7 separate regions of the Homo sapiens genome follow, and regions 1, 3, 4, 5, 6 and 7 are each linked to region 2. The links are contacts of gene promoters, found by promoter capture Hi-C in blood cells and fetal thymus (Javierre and others, 2016). All regions are on one chromosome and are shown on one strand. Each heading gives the region's core, a stretch centred on a gene start or on the middle of the fragment in contact. The rest is flanking DNA. Distances are from core to core; before and after follow the strand shown. Region 1 overlaps TPR (translocated promoter region, nuclear basket protein). Region 2 holds the start of EDEM3 (ER degradation enhancing alpha-mannosidase like protein 3). Region 3 overlaps ODR4 (odr-4 GPCR localization factor homolog). Region 4 overlaps TPR (translocated promoter region, nuclear basket protein). Region 5 holds the start of DHX9 (DExH-box helicase 9). Region 6 overlaps SMG7-AS1 (SMG7 antisense RNA 1). Region 7 overlaps PRG4 (proteoglycan 4).

Region 1 (2,910 bases), core at 217-2,716, 1.6 Mb after region 2:
GCTGAACACATAAATCCCATAAAATTCATTATTTACTTTTCCCTGTCCAATGGTTTCTTCTTAACAGTCATTTTGACTACTCATCAGTTAAAAGAAGATAAATGTTTTAAGATCTTAATTTCCTTCCTTCTAGAGGTGGGGGTATATTACTGTAGCTCCTAAGAATGAAGTAACTCAACAATAAGCTTTGGGTGGTAGTGTGGGGTAAGGAGTCAAGCTTGTCTTATTATCATCCATTTCACTACCACAGCTTCTTTTCCTTTGGTTGTTAGTTTTTACTACTTTTTGCTCCTTGGGTGAGAAAGATATTCTGTAGCAGTTTAAATCACTTTATCCTAGAATGACTATCCACACGTATAATCCATAACTATAATAAATTAAGATAGCTGGAATTTATTAAGCACCCACTACATACCAGACATGCTTCTAAATGCTTCATGTGCACAAACTCAATTAAACCTCATTATTATCCAAATATTACAGATGAAGAAACTAAGAGCAGGGAAGTTAAACAATGTACCCAAGGCCACAGCTAATGGTATGAAGCTAGAATCTGAAACCAGGCAGTTTGGTTACAGAGCCTTTACTTTTAAGCACTATACTATATTAGTGTTTAACAAATGCTTAATGAATTTACAAGTTTAGAAGAATGCTTACTTCAAGTTAAATTTTACATTACGTTAAATGGTAGAGATATAAATGAGTGCTTCTCTTTTGATTTAACAAGTGCTTTCTTAAAGCTTAGTATACCTACCTGGACTTTCTCCCTTTCAGCATTTAGACTATCTTGCAGTTCCTGCAGCTCTCTTTCTAAAAGTTCAACCCTTTGTCGATAACGCAGACTCTCAACCTGAGCCACCTCAAACCTAGTTTCAGCAATTTCTTTTTCTCGTCGTATAAATCTACAAAAATACAGATATTAAAATTTTATGTGAATTTTAAAAAGCCAACATTACAAAACGTAGGTAATTTGGTAAGATGACAAAAATCATTGACTTTAATAACTATTACACGTTTTCATTAATAATAAATAATAATGGGAGATGTATTTCTATTTTCTTTTATAGACACTGGCTTTAGAATGTTTATCTCTAAAATGATCTGAAAGGCATTTAGTTTTTCAAGAGAAAACTGCTCTAGTTCTTACTATCAGATTCAACTTTAAAGTCACTTGTTTAATATGTGTAAATGTTAAAAGTTATGAGTTCTTTGACAAATAAAAGAATGAACTTTATATCAAAATCGTGTATAATCTCCTTCTCTAATTTATATATTTGTAGTTTCATTTCATAGTTGTTATACCACAGAAATGAAGCAGTAAGAACATGATTTACCTGAGAATTTCCAAAATTTGTTCTTGAGATTTTCCTTCTTCACTGAGAGATACATTCAGTGGACCTTGTACACCTTCCTTCACAGAGGCAACGACCTTGTCACTTAATTTTTCGATCTGATCATGAAGTAATCTGTTTTGTTTCTCCAGATCTTCACAGCGACATACACATTTGGAAACTTCATCCTGCAAGCCAAGAGTCTATCAGAATAACAGATTTTCCAATGCATATTTAAAAAAAACAACTTGGCCAGGCGCGGTGGCTAACGCCTGTAATCCCGACTACTTGGGAGGCTGAGGCAGGAGAATTGCTTGAACCCAGCAGGTGGAGATTGCAGTGACCCCAATATCACGCCATTGCACTCCAGCATGGGTGACAGAGCGAGGCTCCATCTCAAAACATTATAAAATAAAGAAAAAAACAACTCTTTCAATTCAACAGAACATTCTATTCAGATTTACAATAATACCTTTAACATTCTCTCTCTTTCCTCCCAAGATGCTTTACACTCCAACAACTGTGATTCTGCTTTCTGTGTTGTTTCTTCCAAATGCTGACGGACTGATGCCATTTTTGAAACCTGCTCCTTCGCAGCTTGTAGAGCTTCAACATCAGCAGCATGCAGCATCAATTCTCTCTCATACTTATTCTGAGCTTCCACAGCTATTTTAGCCTATAAGAAATTATTACCCAATTGATACCAAAGATTAAAAATCCATAAAACTAGTTAGCACTTGTCCAAAGATACACATTGGACTTTTTAAATAATAAAAGTAAAGACAATCTAAATGTAGCAAAATAAGAAAATAATTAAAAGTTAATGCTTTAGTTACTTAATATTATAAAACTGTCAGAAATGAAGCTTAGAAGACCAGCAATTTGGACAAACTTTTTGATATAAGAAGCTAAACATAACTCAGCTATATTAAGTACTAAATTATAGATCCATTGATTTTAATGAAATTTACTTTGAAGCATTTCTTCCCTGTATTACATTTTAAAATAGCAATATACACGTCACATATATATAGGCAATAAAGAATAGTAAGCAAATGAATAGCTATTAACATGACACCCAACTTAAAATAAGAACATTACCAATATGCTCAAATGTACTGCTATCCCATCCTACCATTTTAGTAACTCTGAATCCTGAATTGTTTTATCATTTCCTGTTCATAAAAAAATTATAAAAAGCTTCAATACTGTGTGCACATACATACATACACTCAAAATAATGATACTTTTTTAACATTTTATAAATAGTATATAGATATCTGCGCAAACTTGGTAATGCATTAACAATGTTATCAAGAGGTTCTTGTTTTGTTAGCAAAGGTTGCCTCTAATCAACTGTATCTGTAATTTTATAATCAGATCTAGTGAAGGACAATAGTAAAATAATTTTTGCAAATGAGAGCCAAGTACAAATTTTAGTCTCCTAGTCCTGTTTTTATTTTCCCATTGTCAAGATTGCTTTGTTAATGAATATTGCCCTATGTATTTATTTTTAGCCTTCCATCTATACTTTTCAATTTGTCTTGTCTAAGTTCCACAAAAGTGGAAATTATCTTGA
Region 2 (2,950 bases), core at 207-2,706:
ATGCACTTTTTTTTTTTTTTTTCGAGACAGAGTTTCGCTCTTGTTGCCCAGGCTGGATCTATCTCTGCATTAAGAGTGCTTTTATTTTCTTAGGGTAGATTCTCAGAAATAGAACTGATGAATCAAAGTGTGCACAATTTAAATTTTAGTAGATACTACCAATAAGTTACAGCAATTTACACTCTCACTAAGCCTTTTTTTTCTATTCCTTAACTAACCAGAACCGTATCCTTGTGTTTTGTATTATATTTACTAATCTGATGGGCAAAAACCAGCTAGCTCCTCGTTTTAATCTGCATCTCCTACGTTTATGGAGGTTGAGTAACTTTTCATGTTTATTTACCACTTCCATTTCCTCTTCTGGCTTAACCGTTCATGCCTTTCTCCCATTTCCTACTGGTTCTTCGCTTTTTTCTTATTCATGTGTAGGACCTCGTGTATGTATTACTCTGAATTAAATGGTGTAAATAGAATTGATAATTTTAACACACTTCCAAGACGGATAAAAACTACTGAATAGGTATACTTGAGACTTTTGAATAATTTCCCCCCAAACATTCTATTATGAAAATACAGTGCAAGAAAACACTGCAAGGAAATAGTAAAATGTGTAAAGTTCAAGTTCCAATGAACGCCCCCTTTTCCGTAACAGGTGTAAACATCATTTCCTTAACTACTGTGAGATCAGCAACATTTTCCCAGTTGGAAGCTCACTTGCGCGAGAAAGCTAACCATGCTTCGGTCGACAGGCAGCCAACCGCAGAACTCCAGCGCGCAGCGATGCGGGCTGTAGCCCCCTTCTTGGGCCACTGACATGGCAGCCGCGTTGACACACCGCGCCTGGCTTCAAGGAGCCTGCACATGTCACCGGCGGCCAGGGCGACACCCCGTCAGCTCCCCCGAGGTCAGGTCGCGGGCGGCGGTTCCCACCTCCCCGGACCCTGTCCACCCCTCTAGGGTTCTCGCGCGGGAAGAGCCGTTCCAATCGCGACAGGAGAGGCCACTACGCGACCGGGTCGCAATGACAGGCACCCCTCCTGTTGTCAGCCTCACCGAGAAACCCACCCCAGGCTGCCAGCACCCTTACCCAAGCTTCTGTTTCTCCTCCCTACTCATGGGCTCGGCCCCCGCCGTCCACACGGAGGTGGCCGACACCAGGCAGAACGCGGCCGTCGCCGCCACTAGTCTCCATCGCGCTCGCTGGGGAACCGGGGACCCACAGCCCCGGCCGCCGGCTTCGCTCATGGCCCCGCGGTTCCGCGCACGCGCAGCTGCTACGCCCGGCCGGTGAGACACATTGCTGGACGCTGGTGGCCAGGGGGCTGCTAGCCGTGCCGAGACGGGGCGGGATGCGGAGTAACACGGACGGCCGCCGGCGCCAAACTGTTTCCCGAAGCCACCAAGCCGGTCCCCAGCGCCAGCGCTGCCACCGCCCTCCGCCCTCAGTATCCCGGAGCGCCTCCCCCAGCTTTCCGGTGTCGTAGTCTAGGAAACCGCCTCCCCAACGTTACTTCCGGGTAGGGCCGAAGCCGTAGAGCCTCAGGACCAATGGAGACCTCATGGGAGAGGGGCTGTCTCCGGCGACTGGAGAGGGCATTGGCCAGGAGAAGTGAGACGTGGACAAAAGGCGGGACTGGGAAGGGATCTCTCGCTTCGACCCGCCTCCGACCCGCGGAGTTGCCCCCTGAGGACTACCAGTCCCAGTGTGCACTGCTTCTTCCCCGGCTCTCCCGCGAGCCGACTCGGAGCCGTGTCTCTCGCTTCTACCCGGGGTAGGCGCGCTGCACCCTGGGACTTGCGGTCCTCCGAGGTCGCCAGTGGTTGCTGGGATCCCACCTCCCCCTTTCCTCGGCGCCCTACAGTCAACCCTGTCTCGGTGGGCTGCGGAGTCCCGGGAAACCCGTCAGCTGTTTATCTCTCTTCCTCAGAAAGTTGTTTCCCAGAGAGCTGGCTGAATGAGGCGCACTGTCCCCATGTCAGTGCTGCTGCGTTAGGGAATAGTGTTGGAGTAGTCGTCTACCCTCAGGGAAATTCCAAAACACAGTAACAGCAAAATGAATTGAGCCTTTGAAGGCATTGCGCTAAGGTTTTTACTCGCAATCATCTCATGCACTCTTCTCAACTCTGATAGAGTAAGTACCACCATCCCCCTTTTGCAGACGAGAAAACAGAGGCTTAGAAAAGTTGGTTAACAAGAGCTCGTCACACTGCTGTATTAGAATCCATCCAGCCTCTGATTCGGAAGCCCTTGCATTTAACCACCGCGCAGTACTACAAGGATGAAGGAGCACGTGGGTCCTCGTACATGATTAATAATAGTTACCTCAAAAGCTCAATGTAAGGAGAGCTGTGTGGGCTGCAAAGAAGGTTTAATGAAGGAGATTGGAACTTGCAATGAATTTTGATGACCGAGTCCCAGGTTAACTATTGGTAAAATGACACATCGGTTCCTCTTGAAAAACCACATTGTTTTTCTAGTGTGGTCATTCAATAGGTGCGGAGTTTAGGAGCTTCGATGTGATCTCTGTGACCACAGTAAATTACTTACGTGTCCTTTAAGCAGTATTCGGCGGTCTTTCTGGAAACGTTTCTTCCTTGACTTTTATCACCTTACCTCTTACCTCTTAACCTCTTACCTCTTCTCTGGCTGACCCGTTTTCCTTCATTCTCTCGCTACTTTATATTAAAATACAGGTGTTCCCTTAAGGTTTTCTTTTTGTCCTTTTTCTCTCTGTACTCTAATTATTCCTTGGTGATTTCTTCTCATAAGGATTCAGCCAACATATCTCTGTGGTTGATTTCTAAATCAATATCTGTCCTGATCATTAGACCCACATTTCCACCTCCCTAATAGAAATGTCCTAATGTCTAGCCCAAGGGTAGCTCAAACGTAAGATGTTTTCTGATTCAAATTAATGCATCGGAATCATTGTCAACTCATCTTTAGCCT
Region 3 (3,133 bases), core at 90-2,589, 1.6 Mb after region 2:
TGAATTACTTGAGGAAAAGTAGTGTCAAATGAGGGTATAAACATCATTGACCAGATCCTAGAAAGTCTGAAATATCAATCTAAAATAAAACTTCATTTTATTTAGCTGATGGTGGGACGCCATTGAAAAAATATTTCAGTCTTTGATCTCCTGAGAAAAGGATTTATTTATTGATGTAGCTAAAGGATGTTGTTATCAGATAGTTTTATTTATAAAGTAGTTTTAAGGTGAAAAGCTAAGGACATGCTAAGCAGACAGTTTCTCAAACAGAAAGGATTGCATATAATGCCAATTTGTTAGCTAATAATATATTTCTATTTTTAGGTATCCAGAATGCTACCAGGGGGACTTTTAGTTCTTGGAGTATTTATTATTACTACTTTAGAACTGGCAAATGATTTTCAAAATGCCCTGCGTAGAGTAAGTTTGATATATCGAAAATTCTTAATGAAATCAGTTATATGTTATTTTTACTGATTATGAGTATGTGTAATGATTCTAGGCATATTTACATTTGTTTTCCATAATTCTTTTTGTTGGGGTTACATTGAAAAAGCTTTTGTCACTCAATTGCTTGGATATCTTGAGTGTAAAAAATGTTTATATTTTTAAAAACTACACATTTTATTTATTATTTTTTCCATGGGTAATTTTATTCTTTATTTAGTACACTACCCAAAACAGGGCTATCATCAGCCCATATGGCATTTCATACAAATTTGAAAAAGCTATTCTTTCCTCAAGTTAAAAAGTTAAATTATTTACTTCTCAATAATAACCATGACTAATGACAGTAATTCCATGTAAATTATGCAAACAAATAATTCATTGTAAAATATTGAAAAATTCAAATGATTAATTATAATATTAAGAACTCAAAGTCACTTGGATCTAATAATTTGTTGTAAAAAAGGCATCTTTGTGGAAGTAATTCTTTTTGACAGAAAAACTACATATTTTAAAATAATCTTTATTTTAGAGGTAATTTCTGACTATTAGGAAACAAATTATAATGCTTTAAACAGTTTTTCTTATGCAATAGCAGTATTCTGTCACACCTTCCATTTAGTACCTAGTGATTACTGTAACATGAAATTAATAGGTGCTGAAATTCTTTACCTTCTTCTCAATTCTCCGGAGATCCTGAGAGTAAAACATAAACAATCAGATTATTCCTGGACACAGTATCTATCAGAAATCTCCTGTGTTTTTTGCTTAATTGCTGCACCAGAGAATTGGGTAACATAGTGTAAAAGTAAATATGAAGGTCCACATGCTGTTTTCCCTTAAACCCAAACCTAAGGTAGATTCTGTGTAGCCAGCTCTTTTAGCATTCAGGATCCACATGAACTTTTTGAAGGGTATTTCATACCCCAAAAGAGGGGGAACCTTAAAATCTTGAGACATATAAAACCCAACCCCAACAGTATCCCAGAAAAACATTTTTTAGGTAAAAAATATACAGCTGAGAACTTCAGATGTTACAGATTTTTTCAGTCTTGTAACCTGTCCTGTCAGATGTCCCAGCCTCAAGCCTTTGATATTTGCACCTAAGGGAGTAAGGGAAGAAAATGGAGATATTCTCCTCCCTGCTAAATTGTTTAACCCTCTGCCAACTTTTCCATCTTAAATAAATTTACCTTGTTTACAATTGTTCATTCTCTTTGGCATTTTGAAATTTAACCGAAATCTATGCGTATTTAATATTAATAGCATTCATTGTGCAACCTTTTTTGGCTGGTGCTGAATTGAGGGGGTTGAATGTGGGCCCAGTGCTAGAGAGATACAGCCAGGCCCACTTTCCTTGCTTTTGTATCTTTTGTTCCTAAAAAGTATATAAAACTTTAGAAATGCTTTATCTCTGACATTACTGAGTTTCAATTATCTAATTGTTTCCACTGGCTACACTGACAAACACTACAAGAAACAGCCTTATAAAACTTGTCAGTGTCACCCATTATTGTTAAGGACTTTATTCATCATATTACATTAATATTGTGTTTCCGGAAGAATTTCTTTTTATATTATGAAGAAGGTTGTGCCTCCTCTGATGATTGTTTTTAGCTTACAGACCATGTGAATTAGGTTACAGATTAGATTTCTCTCTGCACATTATTGTTAGAAAGCTTAGACCGAAATGTATTACCACCCCTTACATCAAGTATGCATTTTTATAATTCTTATTTCTGACACAAATTTATCTCACTATTCTACTTTAACTTTCAATTTGTTATTACTATATTTTATATGTTGTTATATATTGCCTTAAGTCTTGTGTGACGTTTAAATAAGAAATGCTAAATGGGTGACATGCTTGATTTCTTTAGTTAAAATCACTTATCATTTCTCATTCTAATTAAAGTCTCTGTTCTATAGTTTATATAAATTCTAGTTGCCCCAAATTAATTTTTTGTGTCCAGTTAATCTCTAATGATAGTGAATTAAATTTTTTTATTTAAACCCAATTTTTCTGTAATTTCCTAAAAGGAATTCAAAAATGTTAGTAATTAGCTCCAGTCTTTAATTTGAAGAAAAGAAAAATTAATGGTGGCACACACCTGTAGTCCCAGTTACTTGGGAAGCTGAGGTGAGAGAATCACTTGAGCCCAGGTGTTCAAGGCCAGCTTGAGCAACATAGTGAGACCCCTTCTCCAATAAATAAAGAATCATGGAATTTTAAAGCTAAATGAGAGTTGGGGACATTATAATTGCCTATTTCAACACTCATCTTTTTTTTTCATTTTACATTCAATTAGTGTGTATTTTTCTCTCTTTCAGCTAATGTTTGCTGTGGAAAAGTCTATAAATAGAAAGAGATTGTGGAATTTCACAGAGGAGGAAGTCTCAGAACGAGTGACACTTCACATTTGTGCTTCTACAAAAAAGTATCTTTTGTTCAGTTTATGGTTTAAAAGTACAAAGTACCAAAATAATATTCTTGCAAGGTTTTTTTGCTATTTATTTAAATCATCATTTAAAAAATAGGCATAGTTTTGTAAGATTTTTCTGTAAATAACATGGAATTAGAGCCACCAATAATAATAATAGCAATAATGGTTGTTAATCATGTCCCAAGGTGATAAAAAGCTTGAGATCTGTAATATGAAAGACTCAGGATTCTGAATTTTTTACC
Region 4 (2,869 bases), core at 179-2,678, 1.6 Mb after region 2:
ATCATTAGCAAATCATGAATGCTCAAATTTAAATATATATCCCAAATCTGACAACTTCTCACAATCCTAACTCTACCATCTCACCTAAGCCATTACTATCTTTTCCTGACTTACTGCAGTAGCCTCCAAAGTTTCTCGTTTCTGTCCATTATTCATTTTTAATCTCTTCTGTATGCAGCAGCCAAACTGATCAGATCATGTCATGTCATTATTCTGTGTGAAGCCCTCCAATAGCTTCTGGTATCCATGACAGCCAAGGCAATTACAATGATCTACTCGATCTATCCTCTCCCGCCTCTTAACATATCTCCTGCTACTCTCTGTTCTCACTCACTGTGCTCCAGCCACAGTGGCCTCCTTGTTGACCCTGAACACAAGCAGACACACTGCTGCCTTATGGACTTGGCATCTATTAATATTCTCTTTGATCTAGTATGCTCTTCATTAAGTAACTGCACAGCTTTGATCCCTTTCTTCTTTCAGCTCTTAAATGTCACCTTCTCTTAGTGATGCTTCCTATGAAACTGCCTGCTACACTGTCAAATATTTGTTGACCAAATGAATACTCAGATGGGGGAAGTACAGTTTTACATTATCAAATAAATTTAAAGACATCGTAATTTCATATTATACTTTAAAGGAAACAACCATATTTTCTCATACAAGCTCTGATAAGATATAACAAGTGCTAATTCTATTGAGGAAAGCCAATTTTTATGGGACGTCAAAATATAACTGGGGGCACAAAACTTCAGTAATCATTAATATGATTGTTATACATTTTTTAAGCCTTACTGCGTATGAAATGGTTCTGTAATTTACATACATTATTTTAAATCCTGATTGCAAGATTAGTTATGAGTATCCATATTACATAATGTATAGAAATTTAAAGTTACCAGATATGAAACGGTAGATATTAGGGATATTAACCAATAGGCTGATGTGTCACATCAAAGCAGCTGAGAATCAGGGGAAGAGATTTTGGGATAGCAAAGTTCTGTGATTTAAAAAAGTAATAAATAACTGAGCAGGTCTGCCATAAAATCTGAAGGTTCCATGGCAGAGTTTGAGAATTACCACTGTAAACAATTAAAAATTAAAATAATCAGACTGAATGACCAAGTACTGTATATCCTTAATAGTAAAGGTAATTCTCTGTCTAAAAATTTGAGATAGATGAGCTAGTATAGTGTATTGTTCAAGAGTGGGGTCTCTGGAGCCAGACTTCTTCAGTGTAATCGTTGCTTGTCCGTTACTTATTAGCTATTTGACTTTGAAGAGGTTATTCACCCTTTCTGTGCCTCAGCTTCCATATCTATAAAATGTGGATGAATATCTACCGCACTGAGTTGCGAGAATCAAATAAGGAAATATAAGTAAAGGGCTCAGAATACTACATGATACACAGTTAAGTGTTCAGTAAATGCTAACTGTTATTCTAAAAAATAACTTCTATTACAGGAATAATACATATCTTTTTTTCAAAATAACTTCAAAAATTTGAAAAGCCAAACTCTGAAACTGTTTACATCAGTAAATTTCAAACAATTTTTTTAAGCAACTGAGCTCTTACCCCTTAACTCTCCACATCAAATCTCATGTAGAACCCCAATATGTAGAACACATAAAAATGGAGCTGCTGTGGTTCAAACAGAGGCAAGAGGCCTGGAGTGCCCTAGCACTCCTTAGCCTCCCTCCCAGTATACCCACCCACTACAACCCCTGTAGCACCTCTAAAAGACCCAAGAGCTCTACAAAACATATGTTGACAACCAATAGTCTAGATGAAACATGAGTGAGCTATTCTTTTGGGATGGATCCACCATGTCCATATTTCTTATTATTGATGCCAGAATATTCTTAGAATAATTATTTCAATATAAACCAAGTTCCTTTTAATAATAAAATTTCTCTTTTAAATAAAGCATTTTAAAATACAGGAAAAAAGGATTATTAATTTGTTACTAATAAAGCAGTGTTTTCACAAACAAGTTTGATGTATAAAAACTGTATTGCAGTCAAGGGCAGGGACTCACCTACAGATGAGCTAGAAGGAGGATCCTGGCTGGTGGAGGGGAGATCTGACTCATCAGATGCTTGAACCGGCTCTTCTTCCTGCTGGCTATCAATTTCTAGGCCTGCTTCTGAACTAATACTAAGGAAAAGAAAAATGAGAAAATACAAAACTGATCCTACAGTCAATCATAAATTATATCCACTCTTTTAAATCTATTTTATCACTTAAGTAATCCAGAGCTCCCTTAAACAAAAAATTATAGACTGATTTGGTTACCATATATATTTTTCAAAGGAGCAGGGGGGAAAAGAGCTCAAATTGTTTTTTCCTCATTCCTTTTCTCACTATGACATGTTCCAATTTTAGTTTATGATTTTCCTCTTCTTATGTTTCCTTTTGACAAGGATGTTCACATTCTTGACACTCATAAGAAATATATGGTCCAGATTTTGATAAATCTCAAAACAACATTTTAGGAAAGCACAGTACTATAAAAAGTTCACAACAGTCACACTACTAAATAGTATACCAGTAACCAAACCACGGGCTCTAGCCCAGATGAGATAGGCTATGGGTATGTAAAATTCCTGGCTCAGTGGCTACATCCATCTTTCTCTCTTCCATTCAAGACACAAATGAGGGAGACAGTACAAGAATAACATGAATCTGCTCCAGTTTAAGTCATGTGAAAATTTCAGTACAAAATGACTACAAAAATTAGCCAGGCATGGTGGCGGGTGCCTGTAATCCCAGCTACTTGGGAGGCTGAGGCAGAAAATTGCTTGAACCCAGGAGGCGGAGGCTGCACTGAGCCGAGATCACGCCACTGCACTCCAGCATGGGCGACAG
Region 5 (3,199 bases), core at 66-2,565, 1.9 Mb before region 2:
ATAAACTATGTTGTTCTGATTTTAAGAATGACAGTTTTAAAGGGAGTGATCACTATCAGCTAGAAGGATTAAGAAAAACATAAGGAAAGAGGTGAAAAATAAAGATCCATAGATATAATGAGCCCAGATAATTGATTAGTCTGGATTCCCTGGAACAATCCCAGCTGGAAATGTTTTGTATCATTACCTTCATGGGACGCACTGGAGTTTCAAAATTTAACAGTGACTAGTATAATAATTAAGGACACAATTATTCCAAAGACTTGGAACACAAAATTACTCCAAAGACTTGGAACACAAAAGGTTATCCAATTTAAACAAAAGCAACCTTGCAGATTTTATTCCTACCTTAAAGTAGTTTGCTGAGCACTTACAGTAATGTTCCAGGCACGGCAAGGAGCGACCTGCGTTAGCCAGGCAGAATGCCCGCCTTCACTGAGCTTATTTCTTTCATGGTTTTTTTTTTTTTTTTTGAGACGGAGTCTCGCTCTCTCGCCCAGAAAATGGCGTGATCTCGGCCCACTGCAACCTCCGCCTCCGCCCCCGACCCCGGGGTTCAAGCGATTCTCCTGCCTCAGCCTCCCGAGTAGCTGGGATTGCAGGAGCCCGCCCAGCCACCCAAGCAGCTGGGATTGCAGGCGCCCGCCCCCATGCCCGGCTAATTTTTGTATTTTTTTTTTTTTTTTTAGTAGAAACGGGGTTTCACCACGCTGGCCAGGCTGGTCTCAAACTCCTGACCCCAAGTGATTCGCCCACCTCGGCCTCCCAAAGTGCTGGGATTACAGTCACCACGCCCGGCCAGTTTATTTCTTTCAAGAGACACTGGCGTTCAGACTATCTGAATCAATCCGGTAACTACGCCCACTGAACACCTACTACATGCCAGGTATTGAACTAAGCCGCCCTTCATATGCCATCTCATGTAATTATCTCAACAACCCTACCAAGTTAGCAGCAAGGTTTCCAGTTCTGCCTTCGAAGGGAACCTCCTCTCACCGGAGATCCCTATGACAGACCCTGCGAAATATTTTGCTGCATCAGAATGCTACAGGCCGTCAACTCCCTAACATGCGCAAAAGCGGGCAGCCGATTATCCAGGGTAGTGGATTATCCAGGAGAGTGGATTATCCAGAGTAGCAGGTCTGGCGCGATGCCCGCCCGGCTCAGCCCATCTCCCTAGCAACGAAACCCTTCCGCGCCGCGAGGTTGCTGAGCCCCGCCCCCTCCATTGGCGCGCCCTCGCCATCCCCCGCCCTGGCACGCGCTCTGCGCATGCGTACGCTCGCTGGCCCCGCCCCCTAGCGCCGCGGTCGGAGCCATTTCGCCGATTCCTCCATGCGAGTTGCTGTGCGTTTCTCTGTTGTCTCGGTAGAAGGCCAGAGTCACACACGGTCCTAAGAGCTGGGCACCAGGAAGCGAAGGCTGGTAAGGGAGAGACGTTCCGGCTACCATGCGGGGCGGCGGGGTCGCGGGCGGGCGCCGTGGACCATGGCTCCGCAGCCGGCTTTGTTGCGAAGCGCGGGCGGCGGCGGCGGCTGGGGGTGGGGGAAGGGACGAGCCGCCCGCGGGTCCCCGGATTGCGGGTTGCGTGCGCGCCTCGCCGCGATGCGCTTGCGCCGTCCGGGCAGCCTGTGGCCCCCTCCCCTCTCCTCCGCCCAGCGTTTCCCGCTGCTGCCTCTAGCAGGCAAAGCGCGCTTCCTCCTCTGGCCTGCGTACGCCGGGGCACCGCGGCGGCTGAGGGAAGGGGGTGCTTCGCCTGTGGTGGTTGCCGCCGGGGCGCCACTGGCCTAGGGCTCTTCATTCATTCAAGCCACGAATAACTGGCGCCGTCGTGCAGGCCTTGTGGGTAGAGGAAAAAAAATTGAAGAATGTAAAGGGAGAGCGCCTTTGGCTAGTATAGCGAGGTAAGGCGTCTCGAAGGAGGGAGGCTTTGAGCTGATAACCTCGGCCAACGCGAAGGAAAAGCAGAGCCTGCAGAAGCGGAAGGGATTAGTTATCGCTTAAGGGCAGAAACTGGGCGGGAGCTGAAAGCAGGCCATGTGACTGGAGTGTGGCGAGAAGGCCTTCAAAGGAGAATGGGTTTTAGGGTGGCAAGAGTGGAAACAAAAACCGTGTAGGACAATATTTCACTAGCCCGGGTGTGCAGTAGTGGTGGCAGGAGAGATGGGGAGAAACGAATGGATAGGGGACGTATTTTGAAGCAGAAATGCGTAGTGGTGGAAGGTAGTAGATCTGGAGTCAGGCTACGTTTTCTGGAATTCTTGCGCCTTTTTTTTTTTTTTTTTTTTTGCAAGAGTCTCGCTCTGTCGCCAGACTGGAGTGCAGTGGCGCGATGGCGGCTCACAGCAACGTCGGTCTCCCGGGTTCAAGTGATTCTCCTGCCTCAGCCTCCGGAGTAGCTGGGACTACAGGCGCGCGCCACCACGCCCAGCTAATTTTTGTATTTTTAGTAGAGACGGGGTTTCATCATGTTGGCCAGGATGGTCTCGATCTCTCGACCTCGTGATCCGCCTGCCTTGGCCTACCAAAGTGCTGGGATTACAGGCGTGAGCCTCCGCGCCCGCCCGAATTCTTGCTCTTATAATTAGGAGCTCTGTCTTCCTGAAGCAAGATATTCTTTGTCTCAGTTTCCCCTTCTCTAAAGGGATAGTGATCTTACCTGTACAAGGTTACTAAGGATTAAGTAAAATAGTTCCATTTAGATGATCTATTATGGATATTGTTTGACACACATTAAGGGTTCTACAAGGGATAGCTATGGAGAATCTTAAGGGAGTGGACGACTCTCAACTTGTGCCAGGAGTAACTTGGTGGATGTCGTACCGTTTATGGAAACCGAAATGTAGGGGTAGGGTGTTGGAACAGATTTGAGGGGAAATTTAAAATTCTGTTTTGACTGAGATGCCAAGTTAGCATGCAAATGGGTGAGTTAGTGCCACAGTTGGATGAACTTAATTTTGGACTTTAAAGAGAAACGACGGGCGGGCGCGGTGGCTGACGCCTGTAATCCAGCACTTCGGGAGGTTGAGGCGGGCCGATCAAGAGGTCAGGAGATCAAGACCATCCTGGCCAACACGGTGAAACCCCGTGTCTACTAAAAATACAAAAAATTAGCTGGGCGTGGTGGCGGGCGCCTGTTGTCCCAGCTACTCGGGAGGCTGAGGCAGGAGAATCGCTTGAACCTGGGAGGCGGAGGTTG
Region 6 (3,122 bases), core at 308-2,807, 1.3 Mb before region 2:
CTGGCCCCAAACTCCTTGGCTCAAGTGATCCACCTGGCTCAGCCTCCTGAGTAGCTGAGATTATAGGCACCTGCCACTGTGCCAGGCTAATATTAAGAATTTTAACAAATATGACCAGGTGAGGTGGCTCACCTGTAATCCCATTACTTTGGGAAGCCAAGGCTGGAGGTTCTTGAGCCCAGGAGTTTGAGACCAGCCTGGGCAACATAGGGAGACTGCTGTTTCTACAAAAAATAAAAAAATTAGCTGGGCATCGTGAGGGAAGCCTGTAGTCCTAGCTACTCGAGAGGCTGAGGCAGGGGAATTACTTGAGCCCGGGGGTTGAGGCTGCAGTGAGCTGTGATCATGCCACTATACTCCAGCCTGGGCAACAGAGCAAGACCCTGTCTCAAAAAAAAAAAAAAAAAAAAAGAAAGAAAGAAAGAAAAAGAAAAAGAAAAGAAAGAACTTTTACATATATGGAACAAACTATCCAGGTTTTTGATATGTAAAAGTTTTCTGAGAATAGAAAAGACCCTGGGATTGTTAAGCAAAGCAAAAAAGTGCTTGGATGCATATTCTTAGTATGCCTTGAAGTGATGGACCTAAGTCCTAAGTTTCTTTGCTTTTCATCTTTATCACATTTTAACTTGAATTGCCAATTGAATTGGTACAATAATAATGTCAGGGAAAAGAGGAAGGTGTGTGTTATTTCGTTTTCACACTGCTATAAAGATACTACCCGAGACTGGGTAATTTATAAGCAAAGGGGGTTTAATTGACTCACAGTTCCATATAGTTGGGGAGGCCTCAGGAAACTTACAATCATGGTGGAAGGGGAAAAATGGACCTTCTTTACAAGGCAGCAGGGAGAGACAAACAAAGGAGGAAGTTCCAAACACTTACAAAAACATAAGATCTTGTGAGAACTCACTCACTCATGAGAACAGCATGGGGGAAACCACCCCCATGATCCAATCACCTCCCTCCCTGGACACGTGGGGATTACAGGTCCCTCCGTCAACATGTGGGGATTATAAATAGAGATCAGATTTGGGCAGGGACATAGGGCCAAACCATATCAGTGTGTGCATGTGTACATGCATGTACATGTTTCCCATGGTTTTGAAGAACAGATTTATGACAATGAATATCAGTATCACATTCTTAGTGCTCCAAATTACTATCTACCTGATAAAAGTTAGGAAAGTAGAAACTAGAAAATATTAAAAGATTATGTTATTTTAGTTGGGTGTTTTAAGAAAAATATGGCAACTTCTAGGTAACTGAACAGACTTTGACATGAAATATGTTGCTGTTAGATTAGGGACCCACAAGATGATTTCAGTAAGTACTGTGCTTCGGGTAGTAAAGAGATGCATGAACACTAAGGCCTTCTGCCAATAAAATAAGAGAGGCTACGGTTTTTGTTTTTGTTTTTCAATACTTTTCAATCTTTCCTATGAGCATCTCTTCTTGTCTTCTCCAGATTGTGTCCATTAAATCAGCAGATAAGAATTTTAGGTGTGGTAATTTCTCAGAGGTATTTGCTTATTGGGAGTTGGGGGAAACCTTGAAGATAGTAAGATTTCCCTTAGTAAATATTAGGAGAATGGAGAAGTGAAGGGGGAGAGAAAGCTCTGAATATTATTCCCCAACTGTCACCTCAGTGCCTCCCAAATCAGAAGTTTCTTTTCTTCAATCTTGGACTGCAATGATTCCCGACTATTCTTCAGGCTAAAAGACTCCCTCTTTGGAGTGAATGAATAAATATACACTTGGCAAACTGTTTGAAAAAGGCTACTGACCCTTGATCTAAGAAATCTTGAGCAACAGGAGACCTGAATTTAAATGTCAATTTGTATCTGACTCACTATTTGAAGAGAATGAATTACTCATTTGATTGAATCACTTAACTCTATGGTCTGAGGTGTGGTACTGAAGAGGAATGAATGGCTAGCTTCACACATATTGTGTACTGAGTATGCAACTGATAATAAATGTGTTTCTGCTTTGATGAGAATGATTTACCAAGTTCCTAATTGTGCACAGGATTTATAAACATTCAGAATATATAGGATAAATATTAAAATAAATTAGGGCTTGTTACGATGTCATGGCACAGGCTGTCTATTATTATAAAAAGGGAGGAGGCCTGCTATGTATTAATCGTCAGGTTACCAAAGCTCTGGGTAAATTTGGTAAGAATGTTAAGAGTAGCTTCTCAGCAAGTACTGTGTTTGATTGAAAAGAGGCCATTCCATCTACTTGGACAGAAATGTGGTTATATTAGCCTGTTTTATGTGATAAAAGGTTTTTGAAAAGTTTTAAATCTCTAGCATTGGACTCACAATGTCCTAATATTGTGTTCTTTTCTGTAATCAGTCATGAATAAAGAAATCTATCTTCTAGCACTGGATGCCAATAGATTTGAATGTGAGTTCAGACCTATGAGTATTATAGACAAAGACTAGATTGAGAGCTGGGTACAGTGATTCACACCTAAAATCCCAGCTACTTGTGAGGCTGAGGCGGGAGGACTGCTTGTGGCTAGGAGTTAGAGATAGATAGCCTGGGCAATACAGTTAGGCTGCATCTCTATTTAAAAAAAAAAAAGACTAGATAGAGTATTATTTTAAAAAATAATGTTATGCTGTAGTAGTTCTATTTTACTCTTTTTAGCTTGATATAAAAGAGCAAAAGGGACTGGGCAAGGTGGCTCACACCTGTAATCCCAGAACTTTGAGATGCCAAGGCAGGTGGATCACTTGAGGTCAGGAGTTTGAGACCAGCCTGGCCAACATGGTGAACCTTGTCTCTACTGAAAATACAAAAATTAGCTGGGCGTGGTGGCACACACCTGTAGTCCCAGCTACTTGGGAGGCTGAAGCACAAGAATTGCCTGAACCCAGGAGGCAGAGGTTGCAGTGAGCTGAAATTGTGCCACTGCACTCCAGCCTGGGTGACAGAGTAAGTCTCTGTCTCAAAAAAAAAAAAAAAAAAAGCAAAAAGGCAGAAAAAAATTTAATGTTTATCAAGTTCAGTGTTGTATAATGGGCACTCAATCATGTATGTCATCATTAAAGGTCACAGGAAGCCTATAACAGGTAATGCTTCCATTTTGGTCAAGGAGCAAACTGAAG
Region 7 (2,960 bases), core at 401-2,900, 1.5 Mb after region 2:
CTGTTGGAAGCCTTTGAATTTATATTGAGAATTAAGAAAAAGTTGGAACAGTAACTCCATGATGCTTATTAAATTACATTTCTGTGACACAGGTTATTATTTTCCTTAAGATAAAATTTTAACCTTGCACTGTTAAGTACATGCCATACTTTGGCTAGAGTTTTAAGATAAGTCTATTCTATATTGGAGATTTCTTAAGAATTAAAACTGTCAATAACGTGGCTGAGGGTGACTTGATTTGTTCTGCATAAGATTAAGTCTAATGGCCAAATATTTTCTATAAAATTAAAGCTGATTTAAAGTCTTGTTTCAAGAATGGGATGGTTTTATTATTGTTACATTTTTAAAGTTACTGAAATGTGTATAATGCAAGCCTAAGTTAGTGGTGAGATGAAAGAGCTGTTTTCTGATACTTTTATTTTATTTTCAGCAAGGGTACCTACGGTACCTGAAAACAACGATGGCATGGAAAACACTTCCCATTTACCTGTTGTTGCTGCTGTCTGTTTTCGTGATTCAGCAAGTTTCATCTCAAGGTAGCTTAACCATCGAACATACTTTTATTTAACAACTATTGCTAATCATTCAGTCTTGATTTTTATAACAACGGAAATATATTTCTAAAAATTTATATTTGCTTGAGTTTAATATACTGTACAACCTTAAAATAATATATAACATGTAGCCTGTTTGTAAGTGCTTTGGAATTCTCATCTTTTTCTCCTTTTGAGAGTTTTGAGCTTGTATAAAGAATAATTTTGGTACTTGTTATTTCTATGGTTCTCTCGAAAGTTTAAAAAGTGCAGACAGTTCATCATAAAATTATGCTGGAGCTATATAGTATCATAAAAATAACTAAAAAAGAACAATATTTAGATAACATGTAATTTTTGCCTATATGTTGAACAATTTGTTTTTTAAAATCAAATAAATTATTGATAAATAACTTATTTTGGCATCATTTAGACATAGATACCATATTATAATAAACTATAGTGTTTCAAATGGCATTTTATTAGTCTTGAAAATGTTCTCTTTTTCTTACAAGAACTATTTATCCAGGTATGGACATATACAGATGTGACTGTCATTTTGTGTTATAACATTAAACTTTTCACAGTTCTCCCAAAACAGGTCCTGGATGAATAGTTCTTGTTACTCATTTTTAGAGACTGTTAAAGTACATTCAGTGAAATCACATTAGTAAAAGATGCTAGCATGCCATCTAGGGGGATTAATAGTAACAATGCCAAGCTTTGGATTTTTCTTTTCTTTTCTTTTCCTTTTGTTCCCCTTTGATAAGCAAAATCTGAGAGAATAAAAATCAAGATTCATGACAGTTATGATGAAATTATGTTTCTAAAGTAAACATTTCCAGTAAAATACGAGATTCTTATGAAACCTGAACATGAGTGGTAACTGTCTGCATAGGCATAAGTTGCAGAATTGTTTAGATAAGAAAAGACAGGAAAACACATGAAAGCAAATGTGAATATTCAATAAGAATGATGACTACTCCAGTATCTCCAGACCCTTCGGCTTTCTCGTAACACTATGACAAGGTTCACAACACTGGGGGCACTTTCTAAACTGCCTTTTCCTCTGTGATACAATTGGTTGTTCACTAAAACAGTGTTACTTTCATTTTAATTGTGATTAAATAAATCAAATTAAAATTAATGGGGCTGGGTGTGGTGGCTCACACCTGTAATCCCAGCATTCTGGGAGGCCTAGGGAGACAGATCACCTGAGGTCTGGAGTTCAAGAGCAGCCTGGGCAACATGGCAAAATCTTGTCTCTATACAAAATACAAAAAAATTAGCCAGGTGTGGTAGTGTGTGCCTGTAATCCCAGCTATTCGGAGGCTGAGGCAAGAGGATATCTTGAATCCAGGAGGTGGAGGTTGCATTAAGCTGAGCTTGCATCATGGCACTCCAGCCTGGGCAACAGAGTGAGACTCTGTCTCAAAAATAAATAAATAAATAAATAAAATTAATGGTTACAATTAATAGCAATAAAAGTAGGACAGACACCTAATCTATGAAAGTAAGCTTTTCCTGTAAGGATGATTTCCTCTTTTTTTTTTTTCTTTTGAGACAGGGTCTTGCTTTGTCTCCCAGTCTGGAGTGCAGTGGCACAATCTTGGCTCACTGCAACCTCCACCTACGGGGTTCAAGCGATTCTCCTGTCTCAGCCTCCCGAGTAGCTGGGATTACAGGCCCCTGCCACCATGCCCGGTTAATTTTTGTATTTTTAGTAAAGACAGGTTTTCACCATGTTGGCCAGGCTGGTCTCACCTGACCTCAGGTGATCCGCCCGCCTCAGCCTCCCAAAGTGCTGGAATTACAGATGATTTCTTATTTCAGAAATCTGCCAACTATAAAAGAGCAATCTCTTGATACTGTCTTGTCTGCTTCTCTTGCTTTCTCAACCTCTTCTCATTCTCTTTTTTCTTTATATATAATATATGTATTTATATACATACACTATATATACATTTTTGTATGCATTATGCACTCATGTACGCAAAAAGTTCTGAAAGTTGTCCTACAATTTACTGTTTTATTTGCATATTCAGACTTTGGCATTCCTGGACTCTATTCTTTTAAGATTTGTTTTCAGTGTGTTTCAACATTCCTTTGTGGATTTAGGACAGTACACCTGCCAATTTCTATTCCAGGGATGGATTCCATTGTCACATTTCTGCAGTCATTTCTCAGGGAGGGTTTTAAGGTGGTGTTTTCCAAATGACTTTTAAAAAATATTTGAGAATGAGTATGCTTTTGTTATTGTTTGCTTATTTGTTGCCTGGAAAACCTCTGTTCATGACCTTTATAGTTATGCCCAGTTATTTTAAGGGTTCTCACTTCAGCAGTGGTTGTAAGCATCTGCCTCCCCTGACATTTTAAAAATCCAGTTATCCCCACCAATTAAGGAAGAAAAAGCTCAGTAAAGTTTAT

What was found. Contacts are between HindIII fragments. The CHiCAGO score rates a contact against its expected background, and 5 or more counts as called.
Region 1: a contact is called between a fragment that was not itself captured here and the fragment with the promoter of EDEM3 in region 2, in 2 of 17 cell types (total CD4 T cells and naive CD4 T cells). The highest score is 7.4, in total CD4 T cells.
Region 3: a fragment that was not itself captured here is called in contact with the fragment with the promoter of EDEM3 in region 2 in 1 of 17 cell types (total B cells); the score reaches 5.5 in total B cells.
Region 4: a contact is called between a fragment that was not itself captured here and the fragment with the promoter of EDEM3 in region 2, in 4 of 17 cell types (non-activated CD4 T cells, total CD4 T cells, fetal thymus and 1 more). The highest score is 8.2, in non-activated CD4 T cells.
Region 5: the fragment with the promoter of DHX9 here is called in contact with the fragment with the promoter of EDEM3 in region 2 in 1 of 17 cell types (fetal thymus); the score reaches 6.3 in fetal thymus.
Region 6: a contact is called between a fragment that was not itself captured here and the fragment with the promoter of EDEM3 in region 2, in 1 of 17 cell types (fetal thymus). The highest score is 5.7, in fetal thymus.
Region 7: a fragment that was not itself captured here is called in contact with the fragment with the promoter of EDEM3 in region 2 in 1 of 17 cell types (activated CD4 T cells); the score reaches 5.5 in activated CD4 T cells.

Annotation. Positions count from the first base shown.
Region 1 is chr1:186,342,572-186,345,481 of GRCh38, forward strand. TPR (translocated promoter region, nuclear basket protein) reads right to left here. Exons shown (of 51, transcript NM_003292.3): 25 at 1,804-2,007; 26 at 1,335-1,519; 27 at 755-902. Among named protein-coding and RNA genes, the nearest start is that of TPR, 31 kb to the right of the region's middle. RefSeq lists an enhancer at 945-2,144. The HindIII fragment of the contact is 1,456 bases long and covers 739-2,194 here.
Region 2 is chr1:184,753,402-184,756,351 of GRCh38, forward strand. It overlaps EDEM3 (ER degradation enhancing alpha-mannosidase like protein 3), which reads right to left and starts at 1,457. Exons shown (of 20, transcript NM_025191.4): 1 at 1,088-1,457. The coding sequence starts at 1,245. It overlaps LOC105371649 (a long non-coding RNA gene), which reads left to right and starts at 1,773. Exons shown (of 3, transcript XR_922357.4): 1 at 1,773-2,132. RefSeq lists enhancers at 1,041-1,140, 1,611-1,710. The HindIII fragment of the contact is 1,960 bases long and covers 1,091-2,950 here.
Region 3 is chr1:186,385,664-186,388,796 of GRCh38, forward strand. It overlaps ODR4 (odr-4 GPCR localization factor homolog), which reads left to right. Exons shown (of 14, transcript NM_017847.6): 4 at 325-420; 5 at 2,779-2,885. Among named protein-coding and RNA genes, the nearest start is that of ODR4, 11 kb to the left of the region's middle. The HindIII fragment of the contact is 1,570 bases long and covers 555-2,124 here.
Region 4 is chr1:186,315,443-186,318,311 of GRCh38, forward strand. TPR (translocated promoter region, nuclear basket protein) reads right to left here. Exons shown (of 51, transcript NM_003292.3): 49 at 2,040-2,158. Among named protein-coding and RNA genes, the nearest start is that of PRG4, 21 kb to the left of the region's middle. The HindIII fragment of the contact is 5,178 bases long and covers 1-2,869 here.
Region 5 is chr1:182,838,032-182,841,230 of GRCh38, forward strand. It overlaps DHX9 (DExH-box helicase 9), which reads left to right and starts at 1,316. Exons shown (of 28, transcript NM_001357.5): 1 at 1,316-1,425. It overlaps DHX9-AS1 (DHX9 antisense RNA 1), which reads right to left and starts at 1,560. Exons shown (of 2, transcript NR_148933.1): 1 at 1,281-1,560. RefSeq lists an enhancer at 941-1,782 and a silencer at 1,206-1,635. The HindIII fragment of the contact is 6,331 bases long and covers 1-3,199 here.
Region 6 is chr1:183,466,042-183,469,163 of GRCh38, forward strand. The region is part of intron 3 of SMG7-AS1 (SMG7 antisense RNA 1); the gene reads right to left. Among named protein-coding and RNA genes, the nearest start is that of SMG7-AS1, 4.4 kb to the right of the region's middle. The HindIII fragment of the contact is 3,386 bases long and covers 1-3,122 here.
Region 7 is chr1:186,296,416-186,299,375 of GRCh38, forward strand. PRG4 (proteoglycan 4) reads left to right here. Exons shown (of 13, transcript NM_005807.6): 2 at 431-536. The coding sequence starts at 461. Among named protein-coding and RNA genes, the nearest start is that of PRG4, 1.6 kb to the left of the region's middle. The HindIII fragment of the contact is 797 bases long and covers 1,253-2,049 here.